Linked DNA regions of Homo sapiens: regions 2, 3, 4, 5, 6 and 7 are each linked to region 1. The links are contacts of gene promoters, found by promoter capture Hi-C in blood cells and fetal thymus (Javierre and others, 2016). All regions are on one chromosome and are shown on one strand. Each heading gives the region's core, a stretch centred on a gene start or on the middle of the fragment in contact. The rest is flanking DNA. Distances are from core to core; before and after follow the strand shown.

Region 1 (3,985 bases), core at 1,238-3,737:
TCCATGTTATAGATAGGGTTGTTGGAGCTTAGAAGAAAATATCCCAGAATAAAGGCCTCAGAAGCAAAGTTTCTGTCTCTAACCTTCTGTTCCTCGTCTCTTGCCCCTCATTCTCCCACTATGCAAGCCATAGAAACTATAATTCCTCTTTCTCCAGGTGCAGTTATAGAAACCACAACCCCCTTTCCCCAAAGCCAGCCACAAACCCCAAAATATTACTCTAACCTTCTTCCTTTCCATGAAAGACCTGCCCATAAATAAATTCTTTGACTTGCATTGTTTGATAGTACGTCTTAAGACTCCCATTCTAGAAAGGGTCCTACCCCATACCCTGGAAGAAGGAATGCTGAACAATCAGGTCAAGAGGAATCTGAACAGACAGGCCTTGCTGAGTTTCTCCACACAGTCTGCTCTCATTAGGTCATATCCTTTTTGACCAATGAGAGTTCTTCAGGGTTTTTCATTCTTCATCGAACCCAAGTATAAAAATGGGTAGTCTTCCCTGCATCTTTGCATCTCCATTTGCAAGGTTCCCATGTCACATAAAACTTGGATTAAATAAATTTGTTATGCTTTTCTCTTGCTATTCTTTTTGTTATATGAGTGTTGGCTGTGACTGTTATGATGAGAAGAAAAGGTATCACCCCCTTTGTTCCCCATAAGGCACAGTATTTTGGAGATAGCAAGCTGTATGAGATGTATATAAATTTGAATTAAAATTACATGAGGCTGGGTGCCATGGCTCATGTCTATAATCCCAGCACTTTTGGGAGGCCGAGGCAGGCGGATCATTTGAGGCCAGGAGTTTGAGACCAGCCTGGGCAACATGATGAAACCCTGTCTCTACAAAAAATACAAAAATCAGCTGGGCGTGATGGTGCACGTCTCTAGTCCCAGCTACTTGGGAGACTGAGGAAGGAGGATCACTTGACCCCAGGAAGCGGAGGTTGCAGTGAATCGAGATCATGCCACTGTACTCCAACCTGGGTGATAGAGGGAGACTCTGTCTCAAACAAAACAAAACAAAACCAAAAAAAGTTACATGATTTAGTAAAGGACAGAGACTAATTTAAAACCTATATGTATCTTAGTCTCAAATCATTATATTCCCCGCGAATACACTGGGATTCTCAGTGCCTTCTATCCTTTCATCAGGATTTGAAAATATTTATTTAAGTAGAAAATGAATGGACACACAGATCCCTACATATTGTGCATAATTTTTTCCCTACAGGAATGTCCTTGTCATTTCTTTTTCTCCAAAGTATATAAAAGAAATGCAAATATTACATACCTCTTTAAAAAATAAACTATTACAAAACAGTCAAGAGATAACAATCTTCATCTTGCAGATACCAAATAGCCAGCAATTTATGTACCTAAAAATCCTGAAACAAACATACATCAAAATGGTTATTTATTTATTTTTGAGACGGAGTCTTGCTCTGTTGCCCAGACTGGAGTGCAGTGGCGCGATCTCGGCTCACTGCAACCTCCGCCTCCCGGGTTCAAGCAATTCCCCTGCCTCAGTCTCCAGCGTAGCTGGGACTACAGGCGCGTGCCACCACACCCGTTTTTGTTTTTTTTTGTTTTTTTTTTTTTGTATTTTTACTAGAGACGGGGTTTCACCATGTTAGCCAGGATGGTCTAGATCACCTGGCCTCGTGATCCGCCCGCCTCGGCCTCACAAAGTGCTGGGATTACAGGCGTGAGCCACCGCGCCCGGCCCCAAATGGTTATCTTTGAGAGCTCCTGTGAGATCTCATTTTCTTCATCTTGTTTCTTTTTAGTATTTTTCACATTTTCTACAAGAAATGCATTTTTCTTTTGTAATCACAATCCCCCCTACAACAAATATCATACAATTCCGTTTCACATATGTAACAGTAATAAACGTTTTAGAGATTAAGGCTTCACTCTCATCTGAACTACTGAGAAAATTTAGCAAGCGAATTTCCCCCTTGTCTTTAACTTACAAGAATTGCCCCAGTGTATTGTTCCTGTAGTCATGCTGCCTAAGTCGGCCAGAATTCTAGAGGGTCCCCATCCCTGAGCAAAAAACAAACAAACAAAAAACAAGAAAAAAGAAAGAAAGAAAAAGAAAAACCCATGCACAAGACCTGAGATCTCTGAATCTCAGTTGGGGACACTGGAGAAAGGAAAGGAACAGCACCGTGGATTGGCAACACATTTTATGTAGGTATAAAGATAGGCCTTGCTGGAGATTTGTCCCGGATCCTCCAGCTTATCTCCGGACGCTCCGGTTGCCTAGTTACGAGAACGAGCTACCTCGAGCTCCGCCTCCTTCTTATAGAGTACTCCCCTTTCTCTTTTCCTAGTCTCGCGCAGGGGCGGGTAGCCAGGACTCTTCAGCCACTCAGAGGCCTCTACCTCAGGACCTCAACCGATGATTGGGCGAGCGCAGTACGGGCGTTGCCTGGGGAACGCCTTCCGCGCCTCGAAGTAACGTCAGCACGTCGACGCGGGGCTTTTCTTTAGCCGGGTCCCGCTAACTCGGCTACGGTGTATCTGCGTCTTTGGTCAGGTTGTTCCTTGGCTAAGAGGGCAGTCGTCGCGGACCCACGCGGTTAGCAAGGCTTAGTGCTCGGGCCGGCCGCCTTCACTTCCCTCCCGGCTTTTCCTCCCGACTTATCCACTTTAGGGGCGTCTCGGAGTGCCGGAGGCCCCCGGGGAAGAGCGGGGTGCCGGTGTCCGCTCCGGGCTCGGATGGGAAGTGGTGGGAGGAGCGACCCGGGATGTTCAGTCTGATGGCCAGTTGCTGCGGCTGGTTCAAGCGGTGGCGGGAGCCTGTCAGGTAGGCTGGAGCCAGCTGTCCTGGCCGTCCTAGGGGTTGGAGATGGCTGCGCCCCAGGGGCGAGGCGCCGCCTTTTCCCCGCGCCTGGACGAGTCTATCCCAGGCCGCAAGGGATGCTTTCATTCCCAGGGTGTCCCGGGAGGGAGAGATTGGAGGATGTAGCCTTGTTGTCTGGTCGACTTTCTGTTGCGATTGACAATGCTTACCGTTGTTATATTTTAAATAGGTTTGAATTTGTTAAAAAGTGTGTGTGTGTGTGTGTGTGTGTGTGTGTGTGTGGAATTGAAAACTATCCATTGTGTGTTTTTCCTCTGAAGCTTTTGTAATGGAAATTCTTTTAAAAAGAGGGGGACATGGAATATAGTTTTCATAATATCCGCACATTCCATTCCAAGTCACACCTCCACACAGTTGTATTTGAGGACGTGGGCTTGAAATCTGGCTCCACTACTTAATAATTACATGACTCAACCATTTTGGCCCCACCTTTCTTAAATATTAAATGAGAGTGATAATACTCTGCTTTAGAAATATTGTATTCAATGAGAACAAGTGATAGTGTTTTCTTAACTGTAATGTAGCTTCCAATTTTTATACGGTCTCTAGTAAAACCTTTTAATTGAAAGGGTCCACTTTTTAACATTTCATTTTGAAATGCTGGAAGTATTAATAATTAGTACCTGTTACTTGATATTCATTCATTCAAAAAATATTTATTAAGACAATACCTTGTGCCAGGCACTGTCTTAGGAAATAATCAGTGAAATTGATGCTTTTGAAACTGAGGCCTAACCTATAAAGAGATCTTGTGTTTGTTACACAAATAATGTTGACTTCACATAGTTCTAGTCTGGAATTGGGCCAAGGGTAAGATAAAGCAAAGTTGTTTTTTTTTTTAAATTGTTAACATTTTAAGTATATTTGCCATGAGAATGAACTATCCTTTAAAGAATGAATCTGAAAAGCTACACTTACACATTATAACAGAAAATACATGTCTAGATTGGAAAAAAAGTAACTTTAAATGAAACTAGAGATTCTTCCCCATTATTAGCTCCTAACTGAATTTGAATGTTTTAAATATAAGTAGTAAGATCAACTCTGTAAGTCAAAGATGGGCTGGGTGTGGTGGCTCACGCCTGTAATCCCAGCACTTTGGGAGGCCGAAGC
Region 2 (3,759 bases), core at 347-2,846, 4.0 Mb after region 1:
AGGGTGTTGTTTATTCTCATTGAAATGTTGATCATAATAATGGTTACAGAAATAGATATAAATAGACGTAATTCTTTCTCTCATTCATCTCCATGTTAAAAAAATTGTATGTACAGGGAGGTGTGTGTGTGTGTGTGTGTGTGTGTGTGTGTGTGTGTGTGATTTGAACAGGCTTATAAGTGGCACAGTAAGGAACAATAGACCTTACTCATGAAGATTAACTCACCTGCAAGGATTTAGACAATGTAGTCACAGGCTAGTTATGATTTTGTAGCAACTCATATGCAAATATTTGCAATCTCAGTTACTCTCTTACTTAGAAAGATGGCAAAGGCTTGTAGCGGTGATAGCAGTCATGGAAAGAAGCAGGTTTTCAATACATAGGACTGCTTTAATGTAAGTATTTTAGACAATGCAGAAACTTCCATTATGAAAAGGGAATGCCAGCAGATATATATAAGAAGGCTCTGCTTCATGGGGAAAAATGAACTAAAAATTTAAAAGGTTCTTCAGTTACAGTAATCTACACCTCAGAGCTTCTAGGCAGACCCATGAGTGAGTCTGACACGGCAGGTTCTAGTTGCAAACAGGGATTCTTCTGAAGGAAATAAGTGCAGAAATTTGAATATGGCTAGACATTTCATTTGTATCAAAAATAATTTTACTTCTAAGTGTTCTTTACATTGTTAGTTGCAACCCATTTGTAACAGCATACAATAGGAAATGACAATAATGTCCTGCAGGACGAGATGGGTGAAGTAAACTATGGTGCACCCATTCAGTGAACAGCTCTGCAGCATATGGAAATCAGTTTTCAGGAACAGAGAAGAAAATCTGGCTACAAATAGACACTTTCCCCAACACAATGTAAGTTCAATAAGGGTAGGAGCCATGTCCATCTTTTGTTACTGTATCCCCAGCAGACAGTCCTTGATATAAGTGCTTAGATTAATAAACACAAGTGTTTACAAAAGTGTTCCATTTGAAAAAATGTAAATTATGAACAGAAAACCTCTAAGAATGTACATTAAAATGTGAACTGTTTAATTCTGGGTAGATGATTTTTTTTGCCAGTGGATATTTAAAATTTTTTAAATAATGAAGCTTTATTTTCTAACCAGAACAGAAACAATAAAACTAAGTTAAAGTATATTATTTCATGGGTTTTCCAAAGTAGTTCCTATAAAATAGCCCATTTCTATATTTAGGCCGTTTACAGAGCGAGCTGGCTTCTTCTTAATCATAGAAAGCAGCTTATTTTCTGAAATCCTTGCATTTTATCCAGGCTTATCCCTCAGTGAACAATCATGCACAATCTGTTCAGGATTGTGATGAATAAATGAAGTGAAAATCAAAATGAGGTAACTCTTATATGCTGTCTTCACTCTCATAATTTTCAGGTAAACTGTGATTTGATTCTTCTTGGAGTAAGAACCAAACAGAAATCTTGTTGCTCCCGAGGAGAAATGAAGCTAATGGAAACAGTCCTCTCTTCACAGACTTCACAAGCCACCAATCTCAAGAGAAGAAAACTGGCAAAACTCCTAGGAGCTCATTCCAAATACTCTAATAATTCCCTTAAGCAGTAAACATATTTTCTTTTTCAGTGTTAGATGTACATTATTGAAGAATACAATGCCTGTATTGCTAGCCATTAACAAAAGTTACATTTGATTGGCTAACAAATGTGCATTTATGCTCCTCCAGAGGAATGCCAAGTGTGGGGGTGTGATAGAGACCCATTCTCCTAGACTAGATTGCCAAATGTATTCAGTGATGCATTTGATTCAAAACAGGGAAATGAATATGCCCAGGGGAAGCATTCGACATATTGAATGTTATACTTCAAAGTATATGAAAAAAACAGAAAAGCCTGAAGAAGCTGAGTATTGGTTGAAGAGAACAGTGTAGATTTATTCTGTTCATTTGTATATTTGTCCCTTTTTAAACATCTGGTTTTGTCAAAATCAGAAATGTAATACAATTGCAGTGCTAGGCTAAATAATAGCTATAAATTCCTGGCCATCTAGAATATTAATCTGTGCTATATTTTGAAAATATAATCCTACCAAAATACTACTATTAAATCAAGCTTAAAACCCATTAAATAAATAGTTTTTTTGAAGTTTATTTATGGTCTATCTACAATGAAATGGAGAAGGGTTTTAATACATTATATTAGCTCAATTTTGGAGAGTATCATATACAAATATAATCCTTGGGAAGTTTCAAAAGAATTGGAAAAGTTGTATTAAGAAAATAGAATGAAGTATCCCAGAGTTAGCCTACCTGTGAGGGAATTCATAATAGAAAAATAATTTTCCTTTTGATATTTTGTACCCAGGAGGAAGATACTTTTCTAGAACCCTCTGTGATTCAGAACGGAGGATCAAAACCAATGTTATTGGTTTAAAAAGCAGAAAATTTTTGTCTCTTCACCTGGTGAAAAAGTAATTCAAATCATTTTGATTTACTTTATGGTGAAATAAAAGGAATTACACTGAAAGTAATACACCATTTAATTTATTTCTCTTAATTCAATCCCAGCAATCAAAATAGGTATCGGAATATTTCATATTTCCTGCCAAGGGCTTTTCTTTAAATTGAATCTTGTTCAGAAAATACTCAAAACAAAAGCATGCACACTGCCAATCTGCAAAATGAACACTGATCATAGGAGGTTTTCCTACTTAACAAAAATTTATTTAATACCCACTTGACCTGGTTTACTTGGTTCGACCAAAGATATTAAGGATTACTATGGGATAAATACATTTCATTCAGTTTTTTCACTCAATACAATATCTGGAAGCATCTCCAGTTGTTTATAAATTGAGAGTCCACATCCCTTTGGAGATGTTCTTTTCCTTTCTTTGGTATCCCCCTTTCAGAATTCACACCAGACAGTGTACATACCTCTGTTTTAACATTCGTCACATGTTTTATAGCTCCAGTTCACTGCTCCTGTTGGCTATGCACTTAGAGAAGGCAGGAACGCTATTTCATATTCATTTTTTCAGTACATAACACTTAGTGAAGTGCCTGGCACACGTAGGTGGTCAATAAACATTTGTTGAACAAAGTGATTAATTAAAAACCTCTAAAAAGCTGTGAAAACAATACATGATCTACAAAATGCGAGATGTTATTATTGATGACTGATGTATTAATTTAACATTAGAATGAGAAGAATAAGTGGAAGTTTAGCTTCCCCTCTCCACTTATGCTCACAAATACATGAAACAATATTTTATATATATATATATTTTTTTTTATTTTATTTATTTTTTGAGATGATGTCTCGCTCTGTCGCCCAGGCTAGAGTGCAGTGGCTCAATCTCAGCTCACTGCAACCTCTGCCTCCCATGTTAAAGTGATTCTCCTGCCTCAGCCTCCCAAGTAGCACAGACTACAGGCGTGTGCCACCATGCCCGCTAATTTTTGTACGTTTAGTAGAGACGGGGTTTCACCATGTTGGCCAGGCTGGTCTTGAACTCCTGACCTCAAATGATCTGCACACCTCGGCCTCCCAAAGTGCTGGGATAACAAGCATGAGCCACGGCACCTGGCCTGAAACAATATTTAAATAAGAATAAATACTTGACTGGAGAAGGAGATTGGAGATCCTTCATAGGATTCTCAGCTGTGTGAGTGTGGATGATACCACCTCTATGTGGATGTTCTTGCCTAGGACGGTTGAGCTCTGGTAGATAACCAGGCACTTGGCTGGCACTAAGAAACAAAATATCTTTGAATTAT
Region 3 (3,966 bases), core at 939-3,438, 3.8 Mb after region 1:
GACAGAGTGAAAGGAGCAGTAAGAAATTTAGGTTGGAACTGGGTTATAAAGGTCTCTAGACAAAATGTTTGGCTCTAGATTTAAGGCTCAGAGAATTTTTGCAAAAGCCTGTTATACAGATATTGCTGAAATATGAAACTTGGAGGAATTCCTGCCTTTATCTGCTTCAAGAAATGATTGCTCAACTTTGTTTCTTGGCTGTATCATGCATGATGGACCTGTTTAAAATGAGTTCTGTGCAATGTTTGTAACTGTGAAGAGAGATGGTAAGGTGAGAACAGTATTTATCAAGGGCTGACTGTGCACTTACTTCTGGGCTGGGTACTTTTACTTGCAACGTATCATGTAAATCTCACACTCAGTGTGAAATGTTGGTCCACTTTTACGATCTGACAATTGAAGAAACTGAGTTTGGGAGAGTGCTCAGTGATGGATGCTATGGGCGTTTTGAATGGAACAATTCTTTGAACTGGACTCTTTTGTCCTTTGCAAGATGTTTGGTATCCATGATTACACACACTAATTGCCAGTAGCATCCTCTGGTCATTGGGATAACTGAAAATTCCTCCACCCAGGTGGGTGGGAGGGAGAGTGATACCACTCCCAGTGGAGAGTGATTACCCTAAATCGTGAGAGGAGGTGAATGGGTGGGACCAGGCTGCTAATGAGCTGTGGTGTAGGAGGTACTCTGTACTGTCAGAAATGTCAGTAGTACTTCTGATGACCAGCATGGGAGAGCTATTGGCCTTCAGGTTAAACTACCAGTGTTGACAACAGCATCAGTTATGTGAGGAAAGGAAGCTTTGTTTTCTAAATTGTCATGATGATTGCATTTTTATTGATTTGAAGCACTAAAAATAATTGGTAACTAGTTAGTTGGATAGGAGATACCTGTGTCACATCAGCAGTTCATGCCTTCAGTAGTGAAGATGACGAGAGAATTCCAGAAGTCTTTAGGGGTGTGTAATTTGTGAGAATCTTGTCCCCCTCTGCTCCTCTAGGTTAATTCAAAGCAAAAGCTTACTCTTGGCAGCAGAGTCAAAATATAGCCTGTTGTAGGGTATCAAAAGTCCACCTTTTCCAAGTGATTTCCATCTCTTGGGTTCAATAAGGTGTCTACCAGATGGCTAATTTGGGAATTCTATTTTTTGCTGTGAACATTCCTTGGAAATGGACTCAATTGTATGCTCTGAAAGTGTTAAAGTTGCAAAGGTACCACAAATTGACCTGCAGTAAGTTTATATAATCAGAACTTCTAACTTTATTGACAGTTATAACATTTTTAAGTTTTTTTACTCATAACAGCGGAAAATATGTAAAAAGGGTAATAGCAAGTTTTGTAAAATAAGAGAAAATATTCCCTCAAGACAAAATATTTTCTATCCAAAGTTCTGATGAAATATACCAAAGTCCAGATATAAGAAACGTTAGTTACCAATTATTAAATAAAATGATAGCAACAAACTGTAGGTGGTTGTAAAATTAAGGAAAATAATCTAGGCTATATGCTGAAAAGAAGGAATCAGCATGAAGTAAAAGTTAAGGAGGTAATACCTACTTTGAGTCTGTTCAATCCATAAGTTAGAGTGGCTGCTTTGTGTCTCATATGGTGCAAAGCAATGTGGATATAACCATAAATGGATGACCAAATATGCCTTCATAGAATTCACACATTAATGGAGGAGATAAAAGTGTACATCTCTGTTCTTAATATGAACTCATTATAAACCAAACATGTCTTTGGAGTGTGTGACTTGTTTCGTTCAGAGCATACTTAATGTTTCACGAATGTCATACGTTGTATGAGAACTTTAACTGGGCTTTCAAAATATGTTCTCACATTATTAACTTTTCTCCAAGCATGGTTTGGTTAGCTTCCTTTGCCAAGGCAGCATAGTGGGGGAAACATGATAGTAACTGCACCATCAAGGTGAATGGAAATGCTGCCCCTTGGTTCCTCTTGCTTTCCTCCTTGACCCTTCAGGCTTTGCAAGTCCTGGATAGAGGCAGAAAAGGGCATCCCTTCGGGAATCAACATTCCAAAAAAGTGGCAGTGCTTTTTTTTTGATGGAAAGAAGTTGAGACAGGATTGCTAGACCCAAGGTCAGGGGCTTTGTCTTCATCTTTGCGTCCCCTTAGTTCAGGTGAGGAGTGACTGTTGATTGGAGCATTAAAGGACTTATTAGTAACATTCAGCTAGGGGTGGTACCCTCCCCAACCTTCAAGTAGGCACTTAGAAACACCAGGAAGGTTGATGCTGTTAGAGAACAAATCGAAGTTTTTCCACTAGTAATAAGTCATTCTTAGTGTTTATTTGGCAGTTGTACGTGGCCAAGTAATGGTACAACTCCATCCAGCAGGACTGTCCCTGAATGTTTTACTTACTCCCAGGAGTTTTTAATTGGAAGTATGCTAAAGCACTGAAACAAGAGCTTAACCAAGTGTGTGTTTGTTTTCTTTCTTCCTAATCAATTAATGATGACAAAAACAAACTAACCTTTATTAAGGCCCTACCCTTTATTAAGGGTACCCTTAATACCCTTTATTAAGCCCTGAGCTTGGAACTTTAAAAATATCAATTCACTTAATCCTCAGAGCAAACGTATCTTTACTCCCTTTTACAATATATAATTTAAGGCTTCAAGAGGTTCAGTAGGTAATCAAAAGTCTCACAATATTGGTAGTAGAGTCAAGAGTCAAGTTTTCCTTCCTGAATTCAAAGCCTACAGCATTATGTGACAGCTTCCTCCGCTTAACTTGGGAAGACTCGTAAAAGAAGGCTGCCCTTAGAAAATGGTTTGGAATGGAAATAAAAGACAATGGCATGCAGCTGGACATCTGCCCAGATGGACTGGGTCAGAGCTATGGACAATCAAGAATTATACTCCTGAGAGTTGGGAGAGGAAAATAAATGCACACATTTATGCAGGTTATAGATTTATATTTAAATACAAAGAAAGGGTCAGTCTCCTTCAAAAGAGAGTTTCAGATGGAAACCATAGCAAGATACCATATTCTACCTATTTGATAAGCAAAACTCCAGTTTCATGTGGGGAAGCTGGAACTCTTATACACTACTAGTGGGAGTATAAATTGATACACCACTTTGGAGAGAAATTTGATATGACCTATCAATATTGCAGATTCACATACTCAGCATTTCTGATTTCAGGGAATTCCACTGAACATGTACAGTTTGCAAACAGGCCAAAAGTTGCCTATAGAAGTTAGTCATTGCAGCATTGTTTTAATAGCAAAAGATGAAAAATAGAGTAGAATGCCATTCAATTGTGGACTAACTGATAAATCACAGTACATCCATATAGTGAAATATGATGTATCTACCAAAAAGAATAGGAAAGCTTTTTATGTACTGTTAAGGAAATATCTCCAAGATACATTAAGTTAAAAAAAAAAAAAAAAAGCCGGGCGTGGTGGCTCATGCCTGTAATCCCAGCACTTTGGGAGGCCAAGGCGGGTGGATCACCTGATGTCAGGCATTTGAGACCAGCCTGACCAACATAGTGAAATCCCATCTCTACTAAAATACAAAAAAAATTAGCCGGTGTGGTGGTGCTTGCCTGTAATCCCAGCTATTCCAGAGGCTGAGGCAGGAGAATCTCTTGAACCTGGGAGGCAGAGGTTGCAGTGAGCCAAGATCGTACCATTGTGCTCCAGCCTGGGCAATAAGAGTGAAACTCCATCTCAAAAAAAAAAAAAAAAATAACAAAAACAAACAAACAAACAAAAAAAAACTTAAGCTACAACTAATTGTGTATAGTATGCCCCATTTGTATATACAAAAGAAGGGGATATGAAATAAATCTGTCACTAGTGTTGCATAACTTATTTTGGGGGTATGGGGAACTGAGTGAAGGGATGAGAGGCAGGAGAAAGACTGTCTTATGCCTTTGTACACTTAAAAATTATGTGAATTACCTATTTCATAAAGTAAGAAAAAGATTG
Region 4 (4,192 bases), core at 1,370-3,869, 3.8 Mb after region 1:
TTTTTTCCAGCCATCATTAAATATAAAAATAGTATATATAAAGATGCATAAAAAAGGAACTTACTTGATACCGTCTTTTAGCATCAATTTATCTTGTTAAGCAGTTATATTAATTTTACACATACTCTTAAATGCTTAAAAACATAGTACTTACATATTAATTTTATGTGATATAATATGTTTTGATCTCTAAATGCTTACATTCTTTCAAGAAGATTGCCTTCTCTTTCCAGTTGTTTTAAGTATTTTAAAAAAGAGCCATTGTATTTTTTATATTTCCATTCAGTCTCATTATGCTTGAAAGTTTCCAACTCTCAAATAAGTTGAAACCAAGTGTCATAGCACAGTGGCTAGAAGTTATTCTTTTTGAAGTTATTCTTCTTTTATTTAATATTAGTCTGATATCCCCTAAAATTTGCTAGAGAAAGCAAACTCTTCTCATGAATGGAAATACAAAATGAAAATTCTCCACTGGATGTTATAAATTCAAAAAAAGAACATATATTTTTTATAGTTACTTCTCACTACTTACTGCTTATTCAGTTTGTAAAATCTTACCAAGTAGGATACTTCAAACAAGAGTGAAAAGCTACTCCATTTACGTGTAATCTGCTTATTTTCTTCAGAGTTTCCAAAAACCTTTGAGAAAACAAAATAATCGTTTTCCCTACCTTACAACCTTGATCACTCTACCATTAAATGCAATAATAAGGTATCTATAATATAACAATCAAAAATATCAGTCAAAGCTTAGTGTTTACCTCTTTAAACTATATAACAAATATAACCGTAGCAACAACAAATTAAAGGAGATCATGTCTCCTTACTGGTCCAAAATTGTATAATTCCTAAATTTTCATATATATACATATACTGACATACCTTTAAAATATATTTATCTGTAAGTCCATTCACTCCATTCAACTGTTTATTGAACACTACCATGTACCATTGTCCTGTTCGAAGCACTGAGGATACATGGTGACCAAGACAAGCAAAGTCCCTGTCTCATGGAATTGACCTTCTAGTGATAAAGACACACAATGAAGAAATAGTGATGTGCTGTGCTTATAATTAAAAATGTTACATAGCATGACTGTGGCTCCTTTAAGCGGTAGAGGAAATCTTCCCCCAAGGACATGCCATTTAAACTGATATCTGAAAAGCATGAAGGAAGCATCCATGAGAAGATATGGGGGAAGAGCATTACAAGCAGAGGGAAAATTTAATGAATGAAATTACAAGCAGAGGGGGATAGTTAATGAATGAAAATTTGGAGTGTTGGAGAGTAGAGAACAGTGTTCTTGGTACACTGAAATGAGGCAAAAAGAGGAGAAGGTATACGCATGAGGCTACTGGAGTAATTCCAGCAAAAACGTGGTGGATTCACTACTTCAAGATTTGGAAGGCATCAGTATATATATGCTATTTAAAGTTTGGAAATCACCTAGGAAAAGCCTGTGGAGGTAGGCCTAGGATTGCACTATATGCTATTCCAATGTTTAATAGGCAGATAATTAGAATTAAACAGAAGAAATGGAGTATAAAGTAAGCTAGAGAAAAAGGAAATGCAGTTGCTCATCTGGATTAAATGCTTTTAAGAAGTCAAGATTAGAACAAAGACATGTCCATGGGAATTAGCAACATGGAAGTTGTTGTTGTTGATGACCTTCACAAGGTCATCAACTATGAAAATAGTGGAGTCAACTATCAACTATGAAATAGTGGAGTCAAATCCCAACTGACATGGATTAAGGCGAGATGTAAAGGAAGGAGGTGAAATCACTATCTATAAACAACTCTCTCAAAAAGCTTTGATGTAAAGGGAGCAAGAGAAATAGGATAATAGCTGGAGAAAGGAAGTCAAGGAATTGTCTTGTTTTTTAAGGATGCTACAGCATATTTATCTACTAATGAAAATGACTTGGCAGACAGGGGAAAACTGATTATGCAAGAGAGATGATAATTGTAACAAAGGCCTTGAGAGATAGAGGGGTTGCGATTTAAAGCATAAGTAGGGAGGTTAATTTTTGATAGGTGCCGGAATATAGAACTCCAATGAAAGGAAGGCAGAATGTGTAATGTGCAAATAGGTTGGTATATTTGTGGTAGAAAGGGAAGGATGTCACTACGTAAGTTTTTTTTTAATTTTACCAAGAATGAGATAAAAGCCAATATGCAGGATGGGAAGGACGTATAGGTTGGAAGAGACATATGTAAGTAGTTGGATAGTAGGAAAGTGAATATATATTTGATGAAATATTTTAAAGGCATCTTTACTAAATATTTTTGAGACATCTTATTGGAAGACCCGAAACTTTGAATTCTGTGGTTTCCAAGGACTCTGGTAAGAGTCCTTTCCATAATGTAGAGATTGAGAACTTCTCAATGCCATAAATACTGTTTTCCTTATTTTCATCTATTACAGATTAAAAGGCAGAAACATTTTGTAGCTAATCTGTTATAATGCAAAGCCTATCAAACTTAAAATTAGCTTAATCCTGAAAGATGTATATTGCATAATCAACCTGTCACTTTTTTCAAACACGATTTGGGAGGGTATTGAGGTCCCATGTAAATTTTAAAATAAAAGACAAACAGGAACTAATCTTTTAGTAAAAATTATTTTGTTTTCATATAGGAAAACAATGCCTTCTGTCATTTACGGAAAACACATGGGCAATATGGTTGGTTGTTCATTGTGCCCCTCTATCCTATAGGAAGAATGTGATCTTTTAATTGTGCTTGGTGCTTTGTTTCTGGAGATATATATATATATATTATATATATGTATATATACCATATGTATATATACATATGTATGTGTGTATGTGTGTATATATATCTCTCTAGGTTGTATGTAATTCAATATGTTGGAATTTAAAGATGCATTATTATTTGGATTTGATGTGAAATTAGATTGTGAATAATGGAGATTGCTCTCCATTTTTTGCTGTTCTAGCATAGCCAAAAATATAAAGATATAGATGTACATATACATATGTATTTGATTAAACACTTTAAATTTTAAATGGCCGCATCAAATTTTAAATGGTAGATGATATCAACAATTGCAGTGCACTCAAAATGTTATAAAATCTTTGTAGCACAAATCCTGAAGTATATGCAAACTAAATAGCATATTTATATAAAATACCTAGATAACATGTCTAGGTTGAGATATTTAATCCCTCATAGAGCTATATTTGACTAATAAAAAACGACAGCTAAAAATAATTTCCCTCCCTATAAGTACAAATATGATTTTTAAAGCATCATTGTAACTTGTCATGAAGCTATTTATTATTAATTAAGGATTTAACTCTGTACCCATCTGCTCTTACAAAAGGGGAAAAAGATTTATCTATGAGAATAGGGAAGTATAGCACTGTTTTATGTTTTTCTCTTTAGTATTCTGTCACCATTTAAAGCTTCAATATATGCCTTCCACTCAGGTTCCTGACACAGCCTACATTCTCTTTTCTGGTTATAATCACAATATGGTAGAGCTATAAACAAGGTAAAAAGGTGTTAACAATTGAACTGCAATCCTACCTATTATCTACTTTACTATAGCAGTGAAGTAGTCCAGACTTATTTGAAGGTGGTACTATTTTTATCTTACAAAAATCTACTATAATATTAATAACTTTCCATGTAAATTTTCATGTGCTGGCATGCTTACAAGTTAATAGTGTTATAGAATGCTCAGCTCTCAATATGAGGGGTTGTTTGTGGTGAATTGCATAACATATGTCATCTATTTGCTGAAAGAATATGCTGTTTAGCAAACTACCTGCTGAGCAACATAATAAGATTTTTGTACAAGGTACAAATTACTAATTATTGTATTTTATTTTTCTATGATTTCCTAAGAGGCATTATCAGGGTCTTACAGATGGAGTAAGCCTGTTTATTAAAATATCTATTGGCAAATAAAAGTTACAGCTTTGGTGGTTGAATTTGTGACTTTTTTGTATTGTTGTATTTATGCAGATCTAATGCAATTTATTTTTTGGTCTAATAAATCTAGATGCTGTTTAGATAATTTAGTAATTCTGGATGCAAAATCATAGTTGTAAATTTTTTAAATAATGTCATTAGGTTTAGACATAAATTCACAGAAATCACTATAAAAAACTAGTAAATATTTTTGTAGCGATTTTATATTGGAAAATATTTTGTGAGATTC
Region 5 (4,139 bases), core at 342-2,841, 4.1 Mb after region 1:
TCCAGGGCACCAACCCCTCGGCCCTAGCACTATCTATTACCTCGTCCCCTCTTCACTTAGTAAGCAACATCTACACTAACATTTCCCAAAGTATTTCTTGGCTACACTGAAGGCATTTTGTGAAAAATTGTTATGTACTAAATGAGTTTGGGAAACATTATACATTTTATTACTCTGTTAGGGGTCACACTCTTACCCCAGGGCCTTTGCACTGGTTGTCACCCTTGCCTGACATATTGTTCATCTGGATATCTATATGGCTAACTCCCTTAACAAATTCAAATGTATGCTAAAATGTCATCTATTGAATGAAGTATACCCTGACCACTCTTTTTAAAAATACCGTATTCTTTCTTTCCTCCTACAACCTGTGTTACCAATCTACCTTTCATCCTGCTTAGCATGTTTTATATAATTTACATTATGTTTATTGTTCATAATCTGTCTTATCCGGCTAGAATGTAAGCTCTGCAAGGAAGTGATCTTTGTTTTGTTCCCTGAGGCATCCCAAACACTTATAATTATCTTTGAAGTATAGTTGGTATTAGTAAATATTTCTTAAATAATGAATGAATATTAACACGTTCAAGGCTTCAGTTGAAAAAAAAAAAGCCTGCTTTGTTCTGCTGAATTCTGTGTCTCTCAAACTTATTTGATCTCAGATCCCATTTTAAAACAAAACAAGACAAAACAAAACAAAACAAAACAAAAGAAAACCACGATACTTACATTCTCCCAAAATAGTACTCCTCCATGACAGCCAGTTCTCATTCATAGGTAAATCAGTGAGATTCTCATTTATAGGCAAATTGGTGCTTTGCACATTCTCCTTACCAAAATTCTGTGTCCTATCATCTTGAGACAACCTTTGATGACTGCTAAACTTTTACGTTCGCAAAGAAATATTGGTAGCTGATAAAGAATAAGCAAGATTGAAGAGGAGACTTCACGAAGTGGTCTTTGATCTGAAGGAATGAAGCACTGGAATAGAAGATGTCCTCTTTACAGGACTCAGTGGAGCTATTTGGGGCACTTATTTTTCGGAAATATCTGTCAAGTCATATGCCTCCTCACTGTCACTTAAATTATGTTAGGATGCCCTGGTGTCTCCTTCTGCATCGCAGGGATGAATCATGATGAGAATCTGTCTGACCTCTTTACTGAATAATCTTTGCTAGACTATCTATATCGCTATAAACATTAAGGAAGAAATAAAAGCAGTTTGTTTTTTGATGATGAATTTTAAGTGGGAAATGGTCTGCATAAAAATAAAAATAAGGCAATGGCTTACACTAGAGAGAGTTGACTTACAGAAAGTCTAAGGGTTTTAGTTCAATTACAAGAAGGCATCTGCCTCTGTTGATGCTGAGTTAGCTCCTTAACCTTATTCCTTTAGAGCTTCCCTTTGCAAGCTCAGTAAGCTTCTTAAGAAAAAAAAAAAAAGCAGAAAAGCACATCTGTCAGAACTAGAAAGTGGTAACTACCAGGAAACAAAATGAATCACAGGGTCACTGGAGAATTTCGTAGTAGTTTAAGCTCTCCCTTGCATAAATTGTCTCCTGTTTACTCTTCTTCCACTCTGATGATGTCAGTCAGCCAGTTTTTATTTCTTTGGCAGCGACATAAAGAGAAAATTTGGAAAGGATGGCTGTGTCGCCAATCTTGGGGTATGTAGCCATTATTTTGCCTATAAAGAGAAAACAAAAGAAAAGCTAAGGTCTTATTTAGACTGGATCTGACAACAGCAACAACAACAAATTCCAAGCTTCTATAAATTTCCCACTGTGTCTGCAGGATGTCATCTAGGCAAAATATCTTGATTTGCAAATTGTAGAGTCATAAAATCTTAATAGGGAAAGACTTTTGGAAATCATTTAGACTACATTTAATGTCTCTCCTGCTCTCTTTTATGCAGAGGAAGCTAGGACTAGAGAGGTTAAGTGATCAACTAATTTAGTTTTCATATTTACAGTCATGTGCTGCACAACGACGTTTTGGTCAGTGATGGACCACATATATGACTGCAGTTCTCCAATAAGCTAAGGTTAATTTATTATTGAAGAAAGAAAAATATTTTGTATAAATTTAGTATAGCCTAAGTGTACAGTTGACAGTAGTGTACAGTCATGTCTTGGGCTTTCACACTCAGTCACCCAGAACAACTCACTAACTCACCCAGAACAACTTTCAGTCCTGTTAACTCCATTCATGGTAAGTGCCCTATACAATTCATCTTTTATACTGCATTTTAACTGAACCTTTTCTATTTTGTCTATGTTTATACATGTTTAGATACACAAATACGTACCATTGTGTTACAATTGCCTATAGTATTTGGTATAATAACGTGCTGTATAGGTTTGTGGCCTAGGAGTAATATCATATAGCATAGGTGTGCAGTAGGCTAGACCATAGAGTTTTGTGTAAGTATACTCTACAATGTTTGCACAATGAGGAAATCACCTAACAACGCATTTCTCTGAGTTTGTCCCCGTCATCAAATTGCGCGTAACTGTTTTGCTTTGATGCATTGGAAATATAACTGGCCATGCCTAGAGCAGCCAGTAGGGGGCATTTGCTATCCTTCCAAAAAACCCTGCTCTCACTCAGAAATCCTGTTTCCTCTCCAGTTCCCAGAATTACCAGATAACCAGTAGATCATCGTTTTTTCATACCCAGTAGACCATCGTCCCCCCCACGACCCTTGTTTCAGTCTCTTATCACATCCTTCCTGGCATACAGAATCAGCTGTGATACGAGTGAGGACACCTGAAGAATCTTGCTCTGTTTTACAGGCAAGAGGATGACACTAAAGCAAAGCAGTCTTCATCATCGTGTAATAGCGCAAGACCACCACTAGATGGAAGCATAGGATACACATTCTCATCCAAATTACTATTGTCTCGAATTTGCCTCCTTAGGAAAACTTTCTTATGTAGTATTGGTAAATGCAAATTATTCAGCACTTGTAGTGAATAATTTTCACTTACCAATACTGGCAGAATGAACTGAAAAGATTAATGATATAATACCAAATGATTCAGATAAAAAACCCACACACCCCGTTATTGAGGAAAATGCAATTATTTACCTCGAATAATTGACTAATGAGGTTTATTGGTTTCTCTGATTGAACACTAATTTATTTTTAAGATTTCACTTTTTACCTACACCTAAGAACAGCATTTTGTTTGTGGGAACGGTAAGAGACAGAGGTGAACATTGTAGAAAAATAAGCTTTCTATTAGAATGAAGTACCTGTTATGAGTAAAGTTTCTAAAGGGCACTAAATAAAACACTAGGGCACATGGCTCTGGGACTGGATATGGTACTTACTGCATGATTTTTAAAAAGTTTCTTAAACTTCCTGGACTTCAATTTCCTCTTCTGTATTCATTAAGCACATGTATGTAGGTGACTTTTGAGACCCCTGAGGAAGCAATAAAACACAGTGGTTAAGAAGAGACAATAGCGATAATCTTTATTGGGATATTTGGTGTCAGTTTTTGTGGGTACAAACATCTATTCTTCCATTTACTACTTGTCTGAACATTGAAAATGACCTAAGATTTTTTGTTGAGTCAGTTACTTTATATATAGTTAAGAGGAATAATACTAGGACCTATCTTTTAAGGTTAAAGTCAGAATTTATGAGACTGTATGTTTAGCACAATGTTTGATACATTGAAGATACCATAATTGACAAAATTAATATCAGCTATCAATCTCATGCATCTTTATTAATGTAGTATGATCTTCCAATGTTATGAATTTCATTAAGATTACCAATAAGGTCCCTGTTTTCCAGGATTGAGATTTTGAGTCATCTTTAATTACTCCCTTTCAAAATCTTTCTTCGTTTTTTGCTTCAGAGCTACTTTTGCATTTTCCTGCCCTTTGTATTTCCATTGCCACCTGACCTTTTTGTCTCTAATATTAATATATCTCCCTGGGCTCCAGTGCTGCCACTGCTATGCATGCACCTACTTTCTGGGCCCTGGTACCATTGAGAAATATGCCCATATTTCTCAGAGAAGACTCCATCTGTGGGAGAAATGGAGAACAGAAGGGCCCAAGAAACTATTGCTGCTGCCATGGACACCCACAAATTTTGCCATCAAGTGCCCCCATAGTATTTG
Region 6 (3,877 bases), core at 1,179-3,678, 4.6 Mb after region 1:
GAATGTAAGAGTATGTGCAAAACTGAAAGCAACACTTGCATGAAGATGGTTATTTTCCCGTTTCCCAAATCTTTTATATCAGTGTATTTATCATTTTATGTACAATACAATTAGATAACTAGCTTAGCTTTATGACATATGCTATTAATATTGGGCAAATACTAGACCTTCTCATATCACTAAACTGAATATTTCTTCAACATTCTCCTGCCATCATCTAAAATAAATCACTGGAATATTCTCCCTTCAGATTCTACTGTTCAGAATGGCATCTATCAGTTATGATATATGAGAGAAAGCTAAGGTTAAAAATAGGAATGGGTAGACTTGAAGGGTGTTCTATTATTACTGAATTTAAGAGATCTATATTGTTTCAAAAATTTCTTTCTCAGTGGGCTGCTTGCCTTTTAATTTACAAGCAATTAAGAAACAGTAGGTAATCAAATTCTGAAGGGATTCAGAACCTTAGAGTGAGTGAGACGCACATTAGTATTCACGTGTATCAGCCTTACTAATTTTTTTTCTTAAGGTATTAGGGTCACTGCAAGGGCAATGTTTCATGAAAGTTCATGTTTGGCTTGTTTTATTTCTAAGAACATTTAGAGCTGGATGGGACATAAGATGATCCAGTACAACCCTCATATATTCCAAATGAGAAAACTGAGGACCAGAGGGGCAAAACATCTTATCCAAGATCAAACTGCTGACAAGTGGCTGCAACAATTTGTCTAAATGCTGTCTATGCTTCAGACAATATTCTAAGCACTTCACATATATTCCATCCATATATATATATATATATGTATATGGATATATATATATATATATGTAGTATGAGGATTAAAAGAGATGAAATACATATATATTTCATAGATGGGAAAACAGCCATAAAAAAGTAACTTCTGAGGATCACACAGCTGGTCTAGTACTTGAGGTTGTGTCCTGGTTCAGTGGTCTTTGCTTGAAAACATAAGATGGAAAACTAGACTGAACTTCATTTAATATAGATGTGTCAGTATCACAGCTCAAAATCTGCCGGTGAGAAGCTGCTGTTGTATTTCCAGCTAGGAAAAGTCAGGAATCTTTCAAGTTTCCACTCAAGATGTGGGGTTTCACTGTATGGGCAACAACATGGTCATGAATGTACGCCTCTACGAGAACTGGGTTTTGATGCTCAAGTATTTTGATATTGGAAGAGAAGATTTTCCTAGCAGGAAATCTGATGCGTGCATTTGGTAGTGCTACTGAGAAACGAATCAAATATATCTTGTGTAACAGTAAAAAGAAGTGGGAAGATTCTGACACAATGACATCCTGGCTGGAGGAGTTTAGCCGACACTTAGCGCACAGGAGATGAGTTCTTTCCATCTCCTAAAGAGGAAAAAGGGCAAATTCACCCAGAGAAGGAGAGAAAATGTGTTCCATAATCTATTGAAATTTATGTTCAGTAACGAACTTTGGACATCTAAGCTTGTTAGCTGCAAATACCCCTTAAGAGTTCTACAAAAAAATGCTGCTACGGAATTGCAAAGATTTTGAAATGCAGTACTACAGTGACAGCTGATCCGGGTCCATACCTGCAAGCAGAGGGCTAGTGACCCTTTCGTGTCCATCTTTTTATCAGCGGCCTCTAACCAAGCGGCCTCTCTGTGGGTACCCCCTACCTACCCCATCCCATATTGTGAACTATTATATTTTCTGTCTGCAACCTGGAACCTGACCCTTTTTCCCTGTCTCCAACTCCCGCCAGGGGCCGGCCTCCTTACCTTCCTTCCTCTCCCACCGGTCCACAGAAAAGTTGGCGCCCCCGTCTACCTGTGCCAGAGCCTGGCACACCTGGGCCTGGGTCTCCAGAATCAGCAGCTCCATCTTGGTCTTCATGTCGCCCGGCCTCCTTCGCAGCTCGCCCAGGTCGGTCACAGGCGGGGCCATGAAGCTGCTGCAGCGGTGGGCCAGCTCATCCTCCTCCTCCTCCGGCCTCCCCAGCGAAGTGGCCCGCGTCCCCGAGGTCTTAGGCAACATCTCCGCCCGCTGCACATGCCCGAAGGCGGCGGTGGCCAGCCCCACCAACCCCGCCAGCGCCGCGGCCAGCCCTGTCCCCACCCAGGGGCCGCCTCTCGACGTCGAGCCGTGCCCCAGCCCGCGGCTCTGCTCCGTGCCAGCCGGGCCAGGGGGCCGGCAGACGCGTCCGGCTGCGCTGCGCTGGGACCAGGCTCGGAGCCCTCCGCCGCCGCACTGGGACCAGGCGCGGGGCCCTCCGCAGCCGCCCCGCGCCACGAGCCAGCAGGGGCCCGAGCTCAGCCTGCCCAGCTGCAAGGCCATGTTCCCGCACTATCACCTGGAGCAGTGCCTGCGTCCCAGAGCCCTGCGTTTGAGCCCCCCACCCAGACCCCCGGAGTATTGAGCCGGCGAGCTGCACAGGCGGAAAGAACCTTTCGAGAAGAGCCGCTGCAGCGTCGGGCTCCGGAGGCGGGGGCGGGAACTGGGGCGCGCTGGGAGCTGTAGTCCGGATCCTATCGCCGCCTGCGGCGTCCCTGCGCGGGGCGGGAGATAAGAATCCGACGCGCCCAGAAGGGCTGGTCCGAAGGGAAGAGAGTGGGGCGGGGACGGTGCTGTGGAAGGGACGGGAGAGATAAAAGAGGCTTTCTTGTCACGTACAACCTCGGGTCGGCTGTTTACTCAGCCAAGGAGAGAAGATAGAGTAGGGCTGGGAGGCTGAGGGCGGACTGGGGCGGAAATGTGGCAGAGATCCCAGTCCCGCTTACATTTTCAAACAGGATTTGCGAATACAGAGCCTGGCTCAGGATCTGTATAGACCCGCCCTTCGCCCTGGGTCCTGGTCCTCTAGAGTTTTTAGAGGGGATGGGCAGGCTGGGAAACTCTTTGCTGAAGGATGGTTTTCTAAAGAGAGTGGGAGAAGCTAGTAATGGACTCGGAAGAGAGTCGAGGAGAAGACTTTCTGTGATCGAGTCCACATCACAGTTCTGTCCTTAAGATTTCCCCAGGCTGGGGCCGGGCGCGGTGGCTCAAGCCTGTAATGCTAGCATTTTGGAAAGCCGAGGCGGTTGGATCACATGAGGTCAGGAGTTCGAGACCAGCCAACATGGTGAAACCCTGTCTCTACTAAAACTACAAAAAAATAGCCGGGCGTGGCGGCGTGCACCTGTAGGCTCAGCTACTCGGGAGGCTGAGGCAGGAGAATCGCTTGAACCCGGGAGGCAGAGGTTGTAGTGAGCCGAGATCGCACCACTGCACTCCAGCCTGGGTGACAGAGTGAGACTCTGTCTCAGAAAAAAAAAAAAAAAAAAAAGGTTTCCCCAGGCCTTGCTTCTATAGTGCCTACTTGATTATTTTAGAAAAAGGAAAAGCAACGTGACTGTTTTGGTTAACCAGTAGAAAATTCCTGACTTGGTGTGTTTTGGTGATTAACAAATAAGAATTTAAAAAATAGTTATTCTACTACTGTAGGGTGCTCCCAAATATTGCTCACGTTTAATACTTACAACAACTGCTACAAACTAGGCAAGGCAAATATCCACACTTCCTCCTACTCTGTCTCCCTTCCCCCACCCTTTAAAGAAATGAGGAAAGAAGCTAATAGATTTGACAGGCAGGTCTTTGTCTCCCCTGTAACCATACCACAGCTCCATGGTTCCTGGACGTAAAAGTGTGAGAACTATTGTCATGGGCTAATTTGTCCCATAAGTCTCCGGGATGATTTTAATTTCTAGTAGTAGATAATAATTTAAGCCACTGGTAGCTTTTCCCACAAGTGTTTTCTTTGTGGCAGGATGCACTGATGGAACTTCAATGGCTTTTGAGTCAGATCAATTGGCATCTTGTCCACACACAACTGTACCTGGCAGCTCTCACTGGG
Region 7 (4,218 bases), core at 512-3,011, 4.5 Mb after region 1:
CTAGAAAACACTCAGGACGCATTTCACTGACCAACCTAGTGTGAACCTGGAGGTGTCTCTACGTGTTTGTGGTTTTGATCATCCTGAGAGAGGACCTGAACGGCCTCTTCACACCCAGTTTCACCAACCACACAACCGTATTTCTGGTTTATCTCTGCATCTTTGGTGTTTCCTAATTTCTATTTATGCTTGCTTGTTGTATGAGTAGGTAAAATAAATCCTTAATTAATTAATGGAGCTAAATTTCTACTTCTGCTTCTTACTCTGCTGTTTGAGAAACGGTAGCTAGCCTTATATTTTCACAAATATGAAAGATGATTTTGTGCAACCATGTAGAGATTATGGAATTTAGGTTTAAAAGCGAAGTTAAATGAGACATCTAGCTTAACTTGTTAAAGATGGTTCTAGTTTCAACCGGAAGGCATTATAGTTATAGCACATTTAAAATAAAACCGATAACTGAAAATCTAGATACTCAGATGTTGTAACTTGTTTTTATTATGTACTTATGAAACAACCCTTCACACTAGAATTTCCATCAATACTAAATTCCCCAATACATTTAATATTTTATTTTTAATTGCACATTTTTAGGAACTAAAAGTTATATCTACATTATAAGATATATTTACATTATGTTTCTTCATGTAATTTTTTTTCTGGTTGTTTCCCTTGTGAACTTTGGAGTTCAGAAAGGAAAAAAATGGGAATATGTACAATTCTGGGTTCCAACCAAAAACCATTTTTAAAAATGTACCTATCTTTGAATTTCCTTGCACCCATTCACTGTAGAACAATAACAGAATCAAGATCAAGGCAAATAGAAAAGTGCACCTAAAATGTCTCCTTTTTTTTTTTAGTAATTCCTGTAAAGTGCCACATATAGTAAAAAACTATAATTTTTAGATGCCCATGCTTCTGAAAGACAGTGAATGACCCATATGTAAATGAGAAGTTTAAGTTTAAATTATCCTTTATTTAAAAATTATCAATGGATCTTTGGTTAATGACCCCTTTCTGGACCCTAGGGTCCTCTTTAGTAAAACAGTTGTACTAATGATCATTAACACCACTTGAAGCTCTAAAATTTTACAGTTTATAATTCTACTGGAAGAAGAATAATGCAACTACAAAATACGGTTTTTCATAGATCCACAGCATTAGAGTTTCATTGCAGAATTTATATACCCTATACCTCAAGCCTAGGCAATGTACTAGAAGCAGAGATAGTGGCAAATGTAGATTGCAAAGGAAAAGGAGGAAGACTATATGCATTCTGATTAGAAAAGGTACCGAAAAACAGCCCTTGCTATTTCAAAGATTAACAGTAATTATGAAGGTAAAATTATGGAAGGAAACTTTTCTGATTTCTTCTAATTGACACTTATTAGTATAGAGTTATGAGTATGAATTGTGGGCCTCCCAAAAATAACTTTTCAAAAAAAAATCTTATTGCAGATAAGAAACTAATATAATCAATTAATTTAATTATTAATAAACTTAAGAGTCTTCATTGAGAGAGTCCTCTTCTCATCACTATCCGTCATACTTATTATGAGGCCATGATAATGATATTTTTCACATTTATTGGTTTGCAAGTTGCTTCTGATTCAACAAGATGTGCCAAGTGAAAACATAAGCATAAGTTGACAAAAAATGTGCTGCATTAACTTAGAAACATCTCTTCATATTAGTTTATGATGTGACAAAGATCCCAGGACTGAATAGAAAATGGAAGCTGTCTAAGAAGTTTGTGAAAAGTCCCTACTCTGCGGAAATAACTCAAAATTCAAGCATGATTCATCCCAGATCTATAATCATTTATTGACCATCTATTGCTTGCCAGACACTCTGCTGGATGCCAAGGACACCAACATAAATAAACATAATTTTTGTTATGCACAACCTAAATTCAGATTAAATCTGCTATTTCGAAGAAATCTAAAGTATATATTCCTAGAATAGTAACATCATTTCTATCTATATATTAGTTACCAATGGAAATAAGCCAGTAAATTAAGTGGGGGGCCCTCATAATAATGAATACGTGCCACTTAGTTTGGCATGATGTGATATTACATTATATAGTACTAAATTCTCCAAGTAACTGAGAATTTAAAAATAAAAATAAACTCCTAGAGTATAAACAGTATAATCGTTTTTCTTAAACTTAACTATTTGACTTTGCACTTTAAGAAATGGACAAGATAATGTATCTAACAAGTGAATATATAATGACACCGTTTGACTGATGAGATTAATGAGAAATAATTAGTTGCTTCATGCTCTTTGCCATTTATTCTGGGACATATCAGCAGAGCATGTGTGAATCAAAGGCTTCGTATCCAGGGATTTCTTTCTTCTGTGCTATATGCATGTAATCTGATGAGTCTCCACCTGATATGGTGGTTGACAGGGAAGAGGCCGAAGTAATATAATCATAAGTTCAATAAGCCTAATAGGGGTGGCTCTATTATTAAATCTTCAGCCTGCTTGTGAAGCAGAGGCTGCAAGCCACAGCAAATAATAATGGATTCACTCAAGCAGATGTTTCAGTAGAGAAAACCTTTCTCTGTCTTCATCTTCAACACCTGAACCAGTTCTGAGCATAACTCAGGAATTGGAACATAGAATAAGCAGGGCCTAGAAATCTAAATTAATTCCTCAAATTTTGTGATATTCAGACTAAAAGACTTCCACAAATTTCAAATTCTGAGGTAACTTTTAAGCCTTTTTTAAAAATTAGTCAAAATAATAACAAAGCATAATATATAATGTTGGTTAACTTATATAAATTAGAACAGTGATTCTAAACTTTAGTGTGTATAAGAATCACCTCGAATGCTTGTTAAATATAAAGTCCTAGACTTCTTCCCCAATGATTCTGACTGAGGACATCTAGAATAGGGTCTGGCAATCTACAGCTCAGCAGGTGTCCCTGATGACTCTAATCTGGGTAAAACGATCTGGCATCCACAGGTTCAAAACAATGGCTTTAAGAGTCCTAAAAGAACTTTAGTTGGGTAACTTCTGTATGCTAGAGGCCAGTCCAGAGATAATGAATGGACTCTGTCTTCAGGTTGCTCATTATCAGCTCCAGGGGTCAGATACAAAGACAACTAACAGTGTGAAAAGAGACAAGTACTTTGTAACCAGTATTTTTAAAGTTCTTAGGAAATACAAAGGAAGAAGCAGTTATTTCTGCCAGGAGTCATGGAGGAAAGTTGAGTGTTATTTTCTGAGAAAAAGAATTCCAAAGATGTGGCATATATGCTCTAATTCAGTTACTAATACTTATATATTATTCTTTTTTTTTTTGCCATCATTCTGTTTACATTGACTTTTCATATGTTTATGGAACCCAGTGTTGCTTTTGAGTTTTGATCTATGTGTAGGTTTCTATTTTATTGTTAGTATCTTCATGTTTATTTTAAAGAAAACTCAAAGTCCTAAAATTGACCGTTGCACCAGCTTATTTACAACCCCACTTTAGCCAGCTTTATTGTGGATTCTGTCTTGTACTAGCATTGTACTCTGAGGTACTAAAAGACTGGCACTATGCTATGTGAACGTTTTTGGCTTAAAACATTTAATTTGTTTTCTGATTTGGGTACAAAGATGCTGTTGATCCAAGGTGGGTATTCTCACATTGTAACATTCTACCATTAAATATCATACTTCAAGGTGGCCACATAATGATAAAGCAAACTATTTTATCTACAACTGCTTCAATAGTTTGCTGAGGAAATTGGATTTGAGATAGTTTACATCAGCGGTCCAGCAACTTTTGAAATTTGAAAAAAAAAATTTAAGGGATACAGAATGAATGTGCAGCCAAATATTTTCCTCTACAGTATGAGCATGAACTCTTTTTCCATTTTATAATACCTTTATGTTGAATTCTTGAGACATATCAAAGGATTAAAAAAAAGAAGAAAAACCGTAGACCCAGAATCAACCTTATTTTCTCAAATGCCAAAAGAACTTATGATTGTAGGGTACAAAATTCTAATATTAAAATTTCAGTACACTTAAAGAATATATATGATTAGTACTTTAACACACAGGCACACAGATATAGATGATATGTTTAAATATTCTATATTACCCTATTAATCTTTTTTGAGTAAATATTGTCCTACTTCAATTTTTGACAAAATGAATTATTCTATTAAATAATTAAAGCTTACCCAGTGGGAAAGATTTCTGTCCCAGAAA

The links. Contacts are between HindIII fragments. The CHiCAGO score rates a contact against its expected background, and 5 or more counts as called.
Region 2: a contact is called between a fragment that was not itself captured here and the fragment with the promoter of ARL13B in region 1, in 1 of 17 cell types (total CD4 T cells). The highest score is 5.5, in total CD4 T cells.
Region 3: a fragment that was not itself captured here is called in contact with the fragment with the promoter of ARL13B in region 1 in 2 of 17 cell types (naive B cells and total B cells); the score reaches 7.1 in naive B cells.
Region 4: a fragment that was not itself captured here is called in contact with the fragment with the promoter of ARL13B in region 1 in 1 of 17 cell types (total B cells); the score reaches 6.1 in total B cells.
Region 5: a contact is called between a fragment that was not itself captured here and the fragment with the promoter of ARL13B in region 1, in 1 of 17 cell types (total CD8 T cells). The highest score is 6.9, in total CD8 T cells.
Region 6: the fragment with the promoter of CPOX here is called in contact with the fragment with the promoter of ARL13B in region 1 in 3 of 17 cell types (non-activated CD4 T cells, activated CD4 T cells and total CD4 T cells); the score reaches 8.3 in non-activated CD4 T cells.
Region 7: a contact is called between a fragment that was not itself captured here and the fragment with the promoter of ARL13B in region 1, in 1 of 17 cell types (non-activated CD4 T cells). The highest score is 7.0, in non-activated CD4 T cells.

The regions. Positions count from the first base shown.
Region 1 is chr3:93,977,668-93,981,652 of GRCh38, forward strand. It overlaps ARL13B (ARF like GTPase 13B), which reads left to right and starts at 2,488. Exons shown (of 10, transcript NM_001174150.2): 1 at 2,488-2,815. The coding sequence starts at 2,757. RefSeq lists enhancers at 2,096-2,255, 2,526-2,655. The HindIII fragment of the contact is 5,745 bases long and covers 1-3,130 here.
Region 2 is chr3:97,982,595-97,986,353 of GRCh38, forward strand. GABRR3 (gamma-aminobutyric acid type A receptor subunit rho3) reads right to left here. Exons shown (of 10, transcript NM_001105580.3): 10 at 2,508-3,759. Among named protein-coding and RNA genes, the nearest start is that of RIOX2, 12 kb to the left of the region's middle. The HindIII fragment of the contact is 988 bases long and covers 1,103-2,090 here.
Region 3 is chr3:97,825,122-97,829,087 of GRCh38, forward strand. The region is part of intron 1 of CRYBG3 (crystallin beta-gamma domain containing 3); the gene reads left to right. Among named protein-coding and RNA genes, the nearest start is that of CRYBG3, 5.1 kb to the left of the region's middle. The HindIII fragment of the contact is 2,343 bases long and covers 1,018-3,360 here.
Region 4 is chr3:97,757,571-97,761,762 of GRCh38, forward strand. EPHA6 (EPH receptor A6) reads left to right here. Exons shown (of 18, transcript NM_001080448.3): 18 at 1-3,962. It overlaps LOC124906256 (a long non-coding RNA gene), which reads right to left and starts at 647. Exons shown (of 5, transcript XR_007095973.1): 1 at 559-647. The HindIII fragment of the contact is 1,619 bases long and covers 1,811-3,429 here.
Region 5 is chr3:98,036,929-98,041,067 of GRCh38, forward strand. No RefSeq gene overlaps it. Among named protein-coding and RNA genes, the nearest start is that of GABRR3, 3.7 kb to the left of the region's middle. RefSeq lists an enhancer at 2,417-2,711. The HindIII fragment of the contact is 344 bases long and covers 1,420-1,763 here.
Region 6 is chr3:98,591,183-98,595,059 of GRCh38, forward strand. It overlaps CPOX (coproporphyrinogen oxidase), which reads right to left and starts at 2,429. Exons shown (of 7, transcript NM_000097.7): 1 at 1,767-2,429. The coding sequence starts at 2,322. RefSeq lists a silencer at 1,968-2,417 and an enhancer at 2,918-2,967. The HindIII fragment of the contact is 5,536 bases long and covers 1,469-3,877 here.
Region 7 is chr3:98,525,651-98,529,868 of GRCh38, forward strand. CLDND1-AS1 (CLDND1 antisense RNA 1) reads left to right here. Exons shown (of 2, transcript NR_198998.1): 2 at 1-237. Among named protein-coding and RNA genes, the nearest start is that of GPR15, 4.2 kb to the right of the region's middle. RefSeq lists an enhancer at 2,715-3,258. The HindIII fragment of the contact is 4,844 bases long and covers 1-4,183 here.